3 separate regions of the Homo sapiens genome follow, and regions 1 and 2 are each linked to region 3. Evidence: promoter capture Hi-C in human tissues and cell types (Jung and others, 2019). All regions are on one chromosome and are shown on one strand. Each heading gives the region's core, a stretch centred on a gene start or on the middle of the fragment in contact. The rest is flanking DNA. Distances are from core to core; before and after follow the strand shown.

Region 1 (3,725 bases), core at 263-2,762, 60 kb after region 3:
CGCTGCAATTCATTATGTTAAGAGGTTAAATGAGAAAACCATATGGTCATCTATATGGGTGCCAAAAAAACATTTAGTATGGTCACAATCCACTTCTGATACGAATTCTAAGTATTCCAAGAGTAGAATTAAATTTTCTAAAATTAAGAGTATCTATTAGAAACATCCCACAAGCATCAGACTTAATAACAGATCATTAGACTGTTCTATGCCACTATGTTTTAGGGTGATTTGTTAAATGTACTAGTCTGCTAGGGCTGCAGTATTAAAGTACCAGAAACTGGTGGCTTAAACAACAGGCATTATGGGGAGCCACAGTTCTGGATGCCAGAGTCTGAGATCAAGGTGTTGGCAGGACTGGTTTCTCCTGAGGGCTAGAAGAGATCCTTCTAGGGCTCCCTCCCCAGCTCGTGGGTGGCCGTCTTCAGGCTCACATGGCGTTCTCCCTGCGTGTGTGTCTATGTCTCCTTTTCAGAGCTACTAGTCATATTGGATTACAGCCTACCTTAATGACCTCATCTTAATTTGCTTATCTTTTTGAAGACCTTATTTCCAAATTAGATCACATTCTGAGTTGTTGGGGTTGGGATGTCAACATATGAATTTTAAGAGACACAATTCAACCATAACATCACACAACAATAGATGACTCATACAGTTGGGAACAAGAATAATTGCTATTCTTCAACTTTGCTCTGAAGGCTGTAACTAATATAATAAGGCAAAAACACGAAGCAAAATGTTTATTGCAAAGGAAAAGACAAGATGATCATCATTAGAGGATTACCTCAATGTCTACCCAGAAAAATCTAAGAGCATTTCTAAGAAACATGATTAAAACTCCTTAACAAGAGCATTTCTTAAAATTCCTGCATATAACGTTAAAATCATTTTCAAAGCAACTTTCCTTTATATCAGTAACAACCAATTTGAATATATAATCTTTTTTTTTTTTTTTTTTTTTTTTGTGAGACGGAGTCTCGCTCTGTCGCCCAGGCTGGAGTGCAGTGGCGGGATCTCGGCTCACTGCAAGCTCCGCCTCCCGGGTTCACGCCATTCTCCTGCCTCAGCCTCCCGAGTAGCTGGGACTACAGGCGCCCGCCACTACGCCCGGCTAATTTTTTTTTTTTGTATTTTTAGTAGAGACGGGGTTTCACCGTTTTAGCCGGGATGGTCTCGATCTCCTGACCTCGTGATCTGCCCGCCTTGGCCTCCCAAAGTGCTGGGATTACAGGCGGAGCCACCGCGCCCGGCCTGAATATATAATCTTTAAAACTGTGTTCACAAAAAGACTTGTATATAAATGTTCCTATCAGCTTTATTAACAATATAACAAAACATTATTTCTAATCCAAAACAGAAGCAACTCAATTATGCTTCAATAGTTGAATGTCTAAATAGTGGTATACAGTGATGTTTACATTTGACAGTGTGTACATGCATGGTATATAGATTTTAATATATTAAGTGGAAATATAAAATACATCAAATCTACACTTAGTATGGGTGCATTCATTTTATCGTATGCCGATTAACTTCAAAAAATAACTTTTTAAAATTCCAATTGTGTTAAAGGGATAAATCTAAAAAAAAGAAGACATTAAAATTCCAAAGAAAATTTAGAAGAATATTTTTATAACCTTATGGTAAAAAAATAATTTAGTCAACATGAAAGAGCAAAGCAAAAGCTATAAATTAAATGATTACTATACAAAATAACTGGGTATGTTGGTGGGAGGCTGAGGCAGGACAATCACTTGAACCCAGGAGACAGAGGTTGCATCAGTGAGCTAATATTGCACCACTGCACTCCAGCCTGGGTGACAAAGTGAGACTCCATCTCCAAAAAAAAAAAAAATTTACATTATATAAAACATCGACATGATTTGTATGTCAAAAGACACCAGCAAAAAAGTTTAAAAGCAAACAACAAACTTGGAAAAACTGCAACATATTTGGAAAACAATGGGACTTCATGAAAAACAGTAGTCTAGGGTATGAAGTGAGAAGTGAAAAAACTACTGGGACTCCTGGGACCTCGGAGATCCAAGAACGGGAACGACAAGGATGCCGGACCCATGTGATGTCGAAGCTGCCAGGAAGAGAGGCAAGAGGACAGGCAGGCAGCCAGCACCAGGCGCTCGTGCCCCATCCACACTGGGTAGGAAGCAGTGGGGGCATCCTGTGCTTCTGTGTTTAGTGCAATGCACGCTGATCCCCAGGCTTAGTGGCAGGTGCGATGCAGTCACTGTCCTATCAGCCTACTGTCTTCTCCTCCCTAGGTGAGAGCGGGATTAGGACAAGGATTAACTGGGCCAGTAATTCTTAAACCTTTGGATCTCAGAAGCACTTTACCCTCTCAAAAATGTTTGAAGACCCCCAAATAACTTTTGTTAATGTGGGTTATATCTATTAATGTTATCGTATTAGAAAATAAAACTAAAAATGCTTCTAAATTCTTGATAGAGTTTAAAATAATACTAATAAAGCCATGATGTATTAACATACGCTATTTTATTTTAAAAAATAGCTATTTTTCCCAAAACAAACAAAATATAATGCAAAGAGTGGCGTTGCCACATATCTCTTTAATGTCTGGCTTAGTAGAAGATGGCTGAATCTTCAGAATTAACCTGTTGTGATCTGTGGTTTTGGTTGAAGTATAATAAGAAATTCAGGCCTCATTCAGATATGCTGTTGGAAAAGTATTTTAATAGCCTTTTCCAATCATTGTGGATATTCCTCTTACAGACTACATAAAAACTCAGCAAGTTATAGGTTCTTAAAGTATATTGCAATGTAGAATCAGAAACCCCACCAGGGAATATTTTTTGCTCTGCTACATTAAACTCTTGGTCCATCTTGTGCTTTGAAAGGATCATTTCTCCACATAACAGCAGGCATTGGTCTTTGGAAAATGGCAGGTCACTGTTATGCAGATCTTCCAAATGTTGACACATTTCATTGTACAGGATTAAAAAATCATCTTTGTTAAAATCACCACCTGTGTCATCAGTGAAGTATTTAAGTCAAGGGAGACTGTTAAGCTCATGGTGGCTGAAGGAATGTTCCAAAATTCCAATTTTCACTTGAAAGCTTGAATTTTATCACGGGCAAAAAATAATGTCAGTTGCTTTCCTTGAAGTGACAGGCTTGCTTTGTTCATTTTAAAGAAAATGTCTAGCAAATACCCAAGTCTGAATAGCCATGGTATGTCTGTCAGTCTTTCTTTGAAGCGAAAATGACGGTCCAAGGAAGACGCAGTTCATTCAGCTCAGAACAGAAACAATCGCACAGGTGCCTTTCCTTGAGATAACGTGCACACCGGGTATGCACACTTCGCATTTTAACACGGAGAATATAAAGGACGTGTACACAAGGGGCAAGGTTTAATAAAATTAATAGTTTATGCTGCTTCATCAAAAACATTCTTAAGTGAAACTGGTGCTTTTTTTTTTCTTTTGAGATAGATTCTCACTCTGTCACCCAGGCTAAAGTGCAGTGGCACGATCTTGGCTCGCTGCATCCTCTGCCTCCTGGGTTCAAGTAATTCTCAGGCTTCAGCCTCCTGAGTAGCTGGGACTACAGGTGTGTGCCACCATGCATAGCTAATTTTTTGCATTTTTAGTAGAGATGGGGTTTCACTATGTTGGCCAGCCTGGTCTCGATCTCCTGGCCTCAAGTGATCTGCCCGCTTTGGCCTCCCAAAGTGCTGGGATTACAGG
Region 2 (3,732 bases), core at 793-3,292, 59 kb before region 3:
CTCCTAGCCAGATAAACATATAACCTTTCCTGGAAGGCCTCTGCACCTCTGTTCCTTTTACCCATCACCTCACATCACATATAGCTTCCAATCAAAACATTGAAAACTAACTAAACAAAAGCAGAAAGGAGTGCAAGAAAAAGCCACGCATGCACATACAATCAGACCCTTCCCTTGGCTTATTGTTTCCTCTGCTCCTACTCTGGTCCCAGACATTGCCATCTCAGCTTGGTCATTTTCCAATTCTAATTTCAGCCCTCTTCTATGGGAGTATCCTCTCCTCTTTTCCATCCTGGCCCTGCGGGTTAGGAAATCCAAACATGACTCTCCCCTCAACCTTGTACTCATTGGCTCCAAAAGTTTAGCTCATGCTATTCCGTCTTCTGGGGGTACCATTTGAATCTACTTTACCAAATCTAACCAACCCTTGAGGACTCAGCTGCTTCAGCACAGACCTGCACATCCTCTACCGGTGTCTCCATTCGGAGCCAGTGCTGAGGAAGCCAGGACAGAGGTTATCCTTCCTTCCATAAGTGGGATTCAGCATGAAGGCAAGACTGTCATGGGAAGAGGAGTGGGGGTGCATATCCAGGCTCCTGGCTCTTCCACACACTCACCTGACGTGACTTGGGCAAGCCACTTGTTCCTTTTGAGTCTTACTTACTTCAAAATGAAAGGAATATCTCCCCTGCATCACAACTTTAGGTTTCTGGGCAAGATCTTCTGTGAGGAAGTTACAAACTTGCAGGTAGCTTTATTCACATAGAGAGTGGTTATTAAGAAATCTTGTATTATTTCATTTTCCTTGTATTAGTCTTTTCTGTCAACTAGTTTGCAAGTTCTTTTTGGGCAGGATCTCTGCTGTAACCCTCTTTGTATGTGCTGATTGTCCAGTAACATGCATGTAATAAGCACACTGTGAATAATTTTCTGAGCCAATCACTGCTTTTGTGGCTCATAAGGGTATATTTCCGCAGGCTGAGACCATTGCATATCATCCCTTCCCCATCTTCAGCAGAGATATCTGTTATTGAGCATTACAGATTAAAATCTCTGCAAACAAAATACAAATCTATAATTGAGTTAATGTTTCATTATTTTACATTGTTTCATTTTAAAAGCAAAGCAATATGAAGTGGCTTTTTAAATTTTATAAAGCAAAATGTGAATAGTCTTTTCTCATCGATAATGGCATCACATTCTCTTTATCACTTGATATCAGGCATATTACTGCTAAAATGGTGGTGATCATATAATGAATTCTGACAGCATGAGTTCAGCAGATTTCACAGAGGCCCATAGCTAGCAACTAATCCCAATTTCAAAAGGTACAGATAGCCATAGGAGATGAGAGCCTAATCAGATTTTCGTAAAATGACTGTTTGAAGAAGGTAGACTGTACATTTCATATTAACCTGTCTCAAAGTATTAAAAACAGCCATGATTTTTATTTCCAACCTTTACCTTTATGACCCATGTGTCATTGGCCTTACCAATCCAAATTTCAGCTCCAACTCCTCAGCTTACTGGCATAAAATTCCCCTTTAAGATTCATATCTTGAAGAGGACAAATTAATTGTGGTATATTTACATAATGAAGTGCTACTCAGCAGTAAAAAGTAATGATCTTTTAATACATGGAATAACATGGGTGAATCTCAAAAATATGTTGCCAAAAAGAAGCAAGGCACAAAATGGTGCTTACTGTATGATTCTATTTATATGAATTTCAAAAACAGGCAAACCTAAGCTATGGTGGGAAAAGCCAGAATTGTGGTCTCCTGAAAGGTGGGGAGGAAGGCGGTGACTTGATAAGAAAGAGCACAGGGAAATTTTCTAGAGAATGGATCAGAGATGTCTGATATATTGAGCTGGGTGGAGGGCATAATGGGCGCATATGTGTAAAACTGTAACCAGTGCACACTTAAAAAGTAGACATGTTTCTATATGTAAATTATACCCCATAAAGTCCCATTTAAAAAGAAGTATTTCTGCTTCTGAAAAGATGAAGTAGACATACTTTCTCCTATTCTTTTCATAATGTACAACTAAATACCCAGAACATTACACATACATAACAAAAATTTTAAAACTCTAAAATGTGAAGAAAAGAAGGCGGAACAGTGGGAACCCTGAGACCAAGTGAGGCAGGAGATCAGTGGGACTTGTTTTTCAAGCACTGGCCATGACCTGGGTTGTGACCCAGTTAATGGGAGCAGGATCTGGTGGAAACAGGGTACAGGGAGAAAGTTGGCAGAAACCAGCCAATGACTACAAAAGTCACCTCTAGCTGCCCTCACTGCTCGTTAACATAAAGACACTCCCACCAGCACCATGACAGTTTACAAATGCCATGGCAATGCACCTTGGCAATGACCTGAAAGTTACCTTATATGGTTCTAGAAACTCCCTTATCCAGAAAGATTTAAATAACCCTCCACTTAATTAGCATGTAATTAAAAATGGATATAAATATGGCTTCCAACAGCCCATAGACTCTGGGTACTCTGGGTACAGAATGCCTATGGGTTAGCCCTGCTCTGCAAGGAGCAGCACCTCTGCCAGGCACTGCCCCTTCAATAAACTTGCTTTCTCTCACCACCAGCTCACCCTTAAATTCTTTTTAATTCTTTCTTGTGCAAAGCCAAGAACCCTCCCAGGCTAAGCCCCAATTTGTGGGCTAACCTGCCTTGCATCACAAGCAACAACACAGTGGAGGGTTCTTGGGGTTTTCTTTTTGCCTCATATATCCCAAGCTTGGAGCTGAAAAAGCTGGCAACCTGGATGGCCCACACATTGCTGGTAGGAATACCAAATGGCACAGGCACTCTAGAACACACTTCAGTGGCTTCTTAAAATATAAACATGCAAATCCCACATGACCCAGCAGTGCACTTCTGGGCAATTATCTCAGAGAGATGAAGATTTATGTTCACACAAACACCTGTACACGCATGTTTCATAGCCGCTCCATTTGCAGTAACCGAAATGGGAAACAACTTAGATGTCCTTCCACAGTGGATGGTTAAACACACTGGAGTGCATTTGTATCATGGACTACTACTTGGCAAAATAAGAACTATCTGTGCAGCAACCTGGGTTAATCTCCAGAGAATTAGGCTGAGTGAAAAAAAAAAAGCCATCCCAAAAAGTTTACATGCTGCATAAATCCCTTTCTAGAACATTCTTGAAATAACACAATGATAGAAATGGAGAACAGCTTAGTGGTTGCCAGGGGTTAAGGATAAAGCAAGGGCAGGAGGGGGCTGGGTGTGGCTATGAGAGGCAGCAGGAGAGATCCTAGTAGAGACAGAGCCTTTGAATCATCACTGTGTTGATGTCAGTATCCTGGCTGTAATTGTTGTATTAATTAATTGTTAACAGTTTTAAAAGATGCTGCCATTGAAGGGATATAAAAGGCACATAGGTTCCTTCTGAATTATTTCTTATAACTGTGTATGAAGCTACAATGATCTCAAAACAAAAAGTTTAGTTAAGATAGCTTTAAAATTATAGCAGAGGAGGATTTGACTGGAAAGGGGCCTGAAGGAGCTTTCTGGGGTGATGGTAACCTTTTATACTTTGATAGGGACTTGGGTTACACAGGTGTGTGCAGTTGTCAAAAATCAGCAAATGGCCACTTAGCCTTTGTGCACATTGTCTGTAAATTTTACACTAAAAACTAAATAAAGTCCAGGCACGGTGGCTCACACCTTGTAATCCCAACACTTT
Region 3 (3,745 bases), core at 553-3,052:
CTTCTATTTAAAATCCCCAGCAGGGAAGGGCCTCTGAGTCATTGCAGGAAGGGAAGCAAGCCAGTTCTTTCCAGAAATACTCATGATGCCACCTTTATACTGCAAAAGGAATGTATCAGTTCTGGTTATGAGATTCCTGAAACATCCCTAAAAAGACACTGATGCACTTTGCTGATCGTCGAAGGCAGCCCTTGCCAGGGCAGACTCATTAACATAATAAGATTGTATATTTGCCTGGTTAATGGACTCAGTGAAGTTCGCAACAAATATTATAAAAGCCTATGTGTCGTCTGCCTGCATAATCATTCACCCTAAGCAATCAAATTGGCATGAATAGCATCCACACTCTTACTACGGAACTAGGTAATAACAAGAACAAAACTGTCACGTGCAAAAATAGAAATAAGGAAAATGCAGTGAAAGGAGAAACATTTCATTTATGGACAAGGAAGTCTCATAAGTATTTTAGAACAAAGTACATTCTTAATTTCTTTTAAAAAAGCTACAGAGAAGAGCCTGTTATTCAACAGAAATGTCATGAGTAAACCTTTGGGGAAAGAACAGAAAGTAATTAGGAAGACACTTGAGAAAATATACCAGTATATGGATTGTGACTCATCAGCTTGATCAATGTGGTGTCTTATAGAATTGATGACTAAATTAGTGTTGAATGCTCATAGGAGGAAACCAAAAAAAAGAAGCTATATTAAATAAACAAGAAATAGAAAAATGACAGATGCAAAGATTAGTGAAAAGGCCAATAATATAAATAACTAGATCATTATGTTCAGACATATATTTATCACTTAGGATTTATGCGACATCCCTTTATCCTAAAAGTAGTTTCATAAATCACATTGATTTCAGTCATTATAATGTGACAGGTTACGTTTTAGTGAAAAAAAGTTCAAGTTCAAAATGCCGTCAATGACAAAAGATATTTTAAAATTATAAACAAAATATTGACATAAAGGCAACTGAAATATTATGTAGAAATAATATTAAATATTCCAAAGAAAGATATTTATTTTCTGAATGTCTTGAACAGTTCAATGAACGTAGGAGTTCAATCAATATTCTCTAATAAATATATGAATTAATATTTTATGTGATATTTTATTTAGAGCTAACGTTTTATCTATATTCTGCATCTGAAAAAATTAAACTGTTTTTGAAAAATGACCACTTTATTTTTAATATAGTTTCCATGGTTAAGTGTTCACTTTGATTATGAATGAATGCATGTGGAATAAATAAATTGCCATTGGCAAAAAAATTACTTTAGATTGAGATGAATATTTCCCTTTGCAGGAGCCAACCCTAAATAATTCAAAACAAATTTGAATATAGTCCAGTGTTACTTGTCACACTAATATTTTCTTTTACTAATGTCATCAATCTGCTGACTTTTTCCCATTGAGAACTCTAATAATAAAGGAAATTACTTTTCTGTCACATATTCCTTGAAAGTATTTGGAATTTACATAATTTACCATTCTAGTCATCTATTTAAATATCCACAACGGAGGCAAATCCTTACCTTAGAAGATGGAACTGGATAACACCAAAACACATGCATTGTGGACAGCGACAGAACTAGGATGAGATTGAGTTTTACTGAGCTGCAAAGTAGAAAAAAAGTACAATCAAGATTTAGTCTCAAGTAGGCAAGAATAAGTAAAACAGCATATGAAAATGCAACATTTTTCTTTGCAGAAAAACGTAGCCTTTTACCTAATCATTTTGGACTTCCCAAAATCTGTAAAGATAGGTGGTTTTATTGCCAAATTTCTCACACTTACTCTCAGACCCTCATTGGGTGGCCCTTTTATACCAGAAAAGTTCGGGAGTAAAAATGTCATCTCATCCCTCCTATATGACTAATTGTTCTGTCTGTGGCCTTTTGTTCTTGTTAAGAAGAAAAGGACATAACATATGGGCATTGTCATTGAGCTGCCAATGATCGACTTCATTTAAAGTTTGCCATTAAGAATGTCCTTCAAAACCATTGTCTTCGAGACTGAATCATTGTGGCATGGGTGGCCAGAGGTCTCAAAAGGAAACAAAAGGTTTTTTTAGCTTAGAATTTAAACCTTTAAGAAGGATGACATTCTTTCCTTGAATGTCCCAGACATTATGTTTCAGAAACTAACACAAAAGAAATACTTACAGGAATAAAGAACATCTACCCAGCTGGGCACGGTGGCTCACACCTGTAATCCTAGCACTTTGGGAGGCCGAGGCAGGTGGATCACCTGAGGTCAGGAGTTTGAGACCAGCCTGGCCAACATGGTGAAACCCTATCTCCACTAAACATACAAAAATTAGCCAGGCGTGGTAGTGCACACCTGTAATCCAGCTACTTGGGAGGCTGAGGCAGGAGGCAGGAGAATCGCTGGAACCCGGGAGGCAGAGGTGGCAGTGAGCCGAGATTGCCCCACTGCACTCCAGCCTGGGTGACAGAGCCAGACTCTGACTCAAAACAAAACAAAACAAAACAAAAACAAACAAAAAAACACATTTACCCAAACAACTCATGCAGATTATTTACATTTTCTACCTTAGATTTCTTTCCTTTAGGACTTCAGCAGTTAAAGCAGGAAAATAAATGTCACACCTTTTCCGCTAGTCATCGAAATAAAGGAAGGACACTGTGTATCCCCTGTCCATGCCATGTACTCCCAAAAGTCCCACGGGCTCCCAAAGTCCCAGGCCCACAGTTCTGGGAGAGCCTGCTTTTCATGGCTTCCTTTTTCTCCCCAGGGTATGGAATTTCTTCAGGCAGCCTTTGCTGTCCTTGCACTTCAATGGGCATCTGCATTAATAAATGGATTCAGGAGCTCTAAGTATGAACAGATGTTGCTGAGGCTTACAATGGAGAAAAACACCAAGGGAGGTGCTTTCTGCTTGGATAACTAGTGTTTCTGAGATGATGCCAACAGTTTTTGAATACAAAGCAACCAAGGATAATCCGTGCCTCCTCGAGATCAGCACCTTTTGGAGGACAAAGCTGCCCTGTGTCTGGGACAGTTGCTGCCAATTTGTTGGCACTGCATTTCTTTCTTTGGGGAACTGCCATTTGCATGATTTTTATGTAGCTGTCAATCATACAGTCACAGTTTGCCATCACAAGGAAAAGCAGATGACCTGGACTCTCAAGAGAACCAAGCTCACAAGATTAGAGCCAAGTTGAGGGGCTGAGGAAGTGATCCAAACTACTTTGATCAGTGTTCTTATGGGACATAGTGTGGATATTAGGAGACAAAGGGCCTAAGAGCACAAAGGGACTGAACACACATATTTACTTTTGGTTGTTTTAGCTAAAACACACACACACACACACACACACACACACGCAGGAACCCAAAAAGAATGCAGAAGGATTTTATTAAGTGATAAACAATTGATCAAGTGGATCTGAGAAAGGTGCTTACTGAAATACCCCCAAAAGACTCAAGTTATTTTTGCATGTAGTGAAGATGGTACCAAAATGGAGGGTTAAGTGGAAATTTGTTTAAGAATCAACTCAATCAATAGCACATCCTCTCCCAACTTCCCATTGCCAGACACTGTCTACTCTCTAGAATTGGCAGGAGATGACAGGTTTATTATTTTTATTTTTTATTTTTGAGACAGGATCTCCCTCTGTTGCCCAGGCTGAAGTGCAGTGGCATGATGATGGCCCACTGCAGCCTTAACCTCCTAGGTTCAAGTGATTTTCCCGCCTCAGCCTCCAAGTAGCTAG

Evidence for each region. Contacts are between HindIII fragments. The study calls those that stand out against the background at their distance.
Region 1: a fragment that was not itself captured here is called in contact with the fragment with the promoter of NPS in region 3 in 5 of the 25 tissues and cell types used here (hippocampus, mesenchymal stem cells, mesendoderm cells and 2 more).
Region 2: a contact is called between a fragment that was not itself captured here and the fragment with the promoter of NPS in region 3, in 3 of the 25 tissues and cell types used here (aorta, ovary and stomach).

Annotation. Positions count from the first base shown.
Region 1 is chr10:127,486,936-127,490,660 of GRCh38, reverse strand. No RefSeq gene overlaps it. Among named protein-coding and RNA genes, the nearest start is that of NPS, 61 kb to the left of the region's middle. The HindIII fragment of the contact is 7,769 bases long and covers 1-3,725 here.
Region 2 is chr10:127,606,830-127,610,561 of GRCh38, reverse strand. No RefSeq gene overlaps it. Among named protein-coding and RNA genes, the nearest start is that of NPS, 59 kb to the right of the region's middle. The HindIII fragment of the contact is 6,724 bases long and covers 1-3,732 here.
Region 3 is chr10:127,547,366-127,551,110 of GRCh38, reverse strand. NPS (neuropeptide S) reads right to left here and starts at 1,802. Exons shown (of 3, transcript NM_001030013.2): 1 at 1,735-1,802; 2 at 1,541-1,622. The coding sequence starts at 1,742. The HindIII fragment of the contact is 14,829 bases long and covers 1-3,745 here.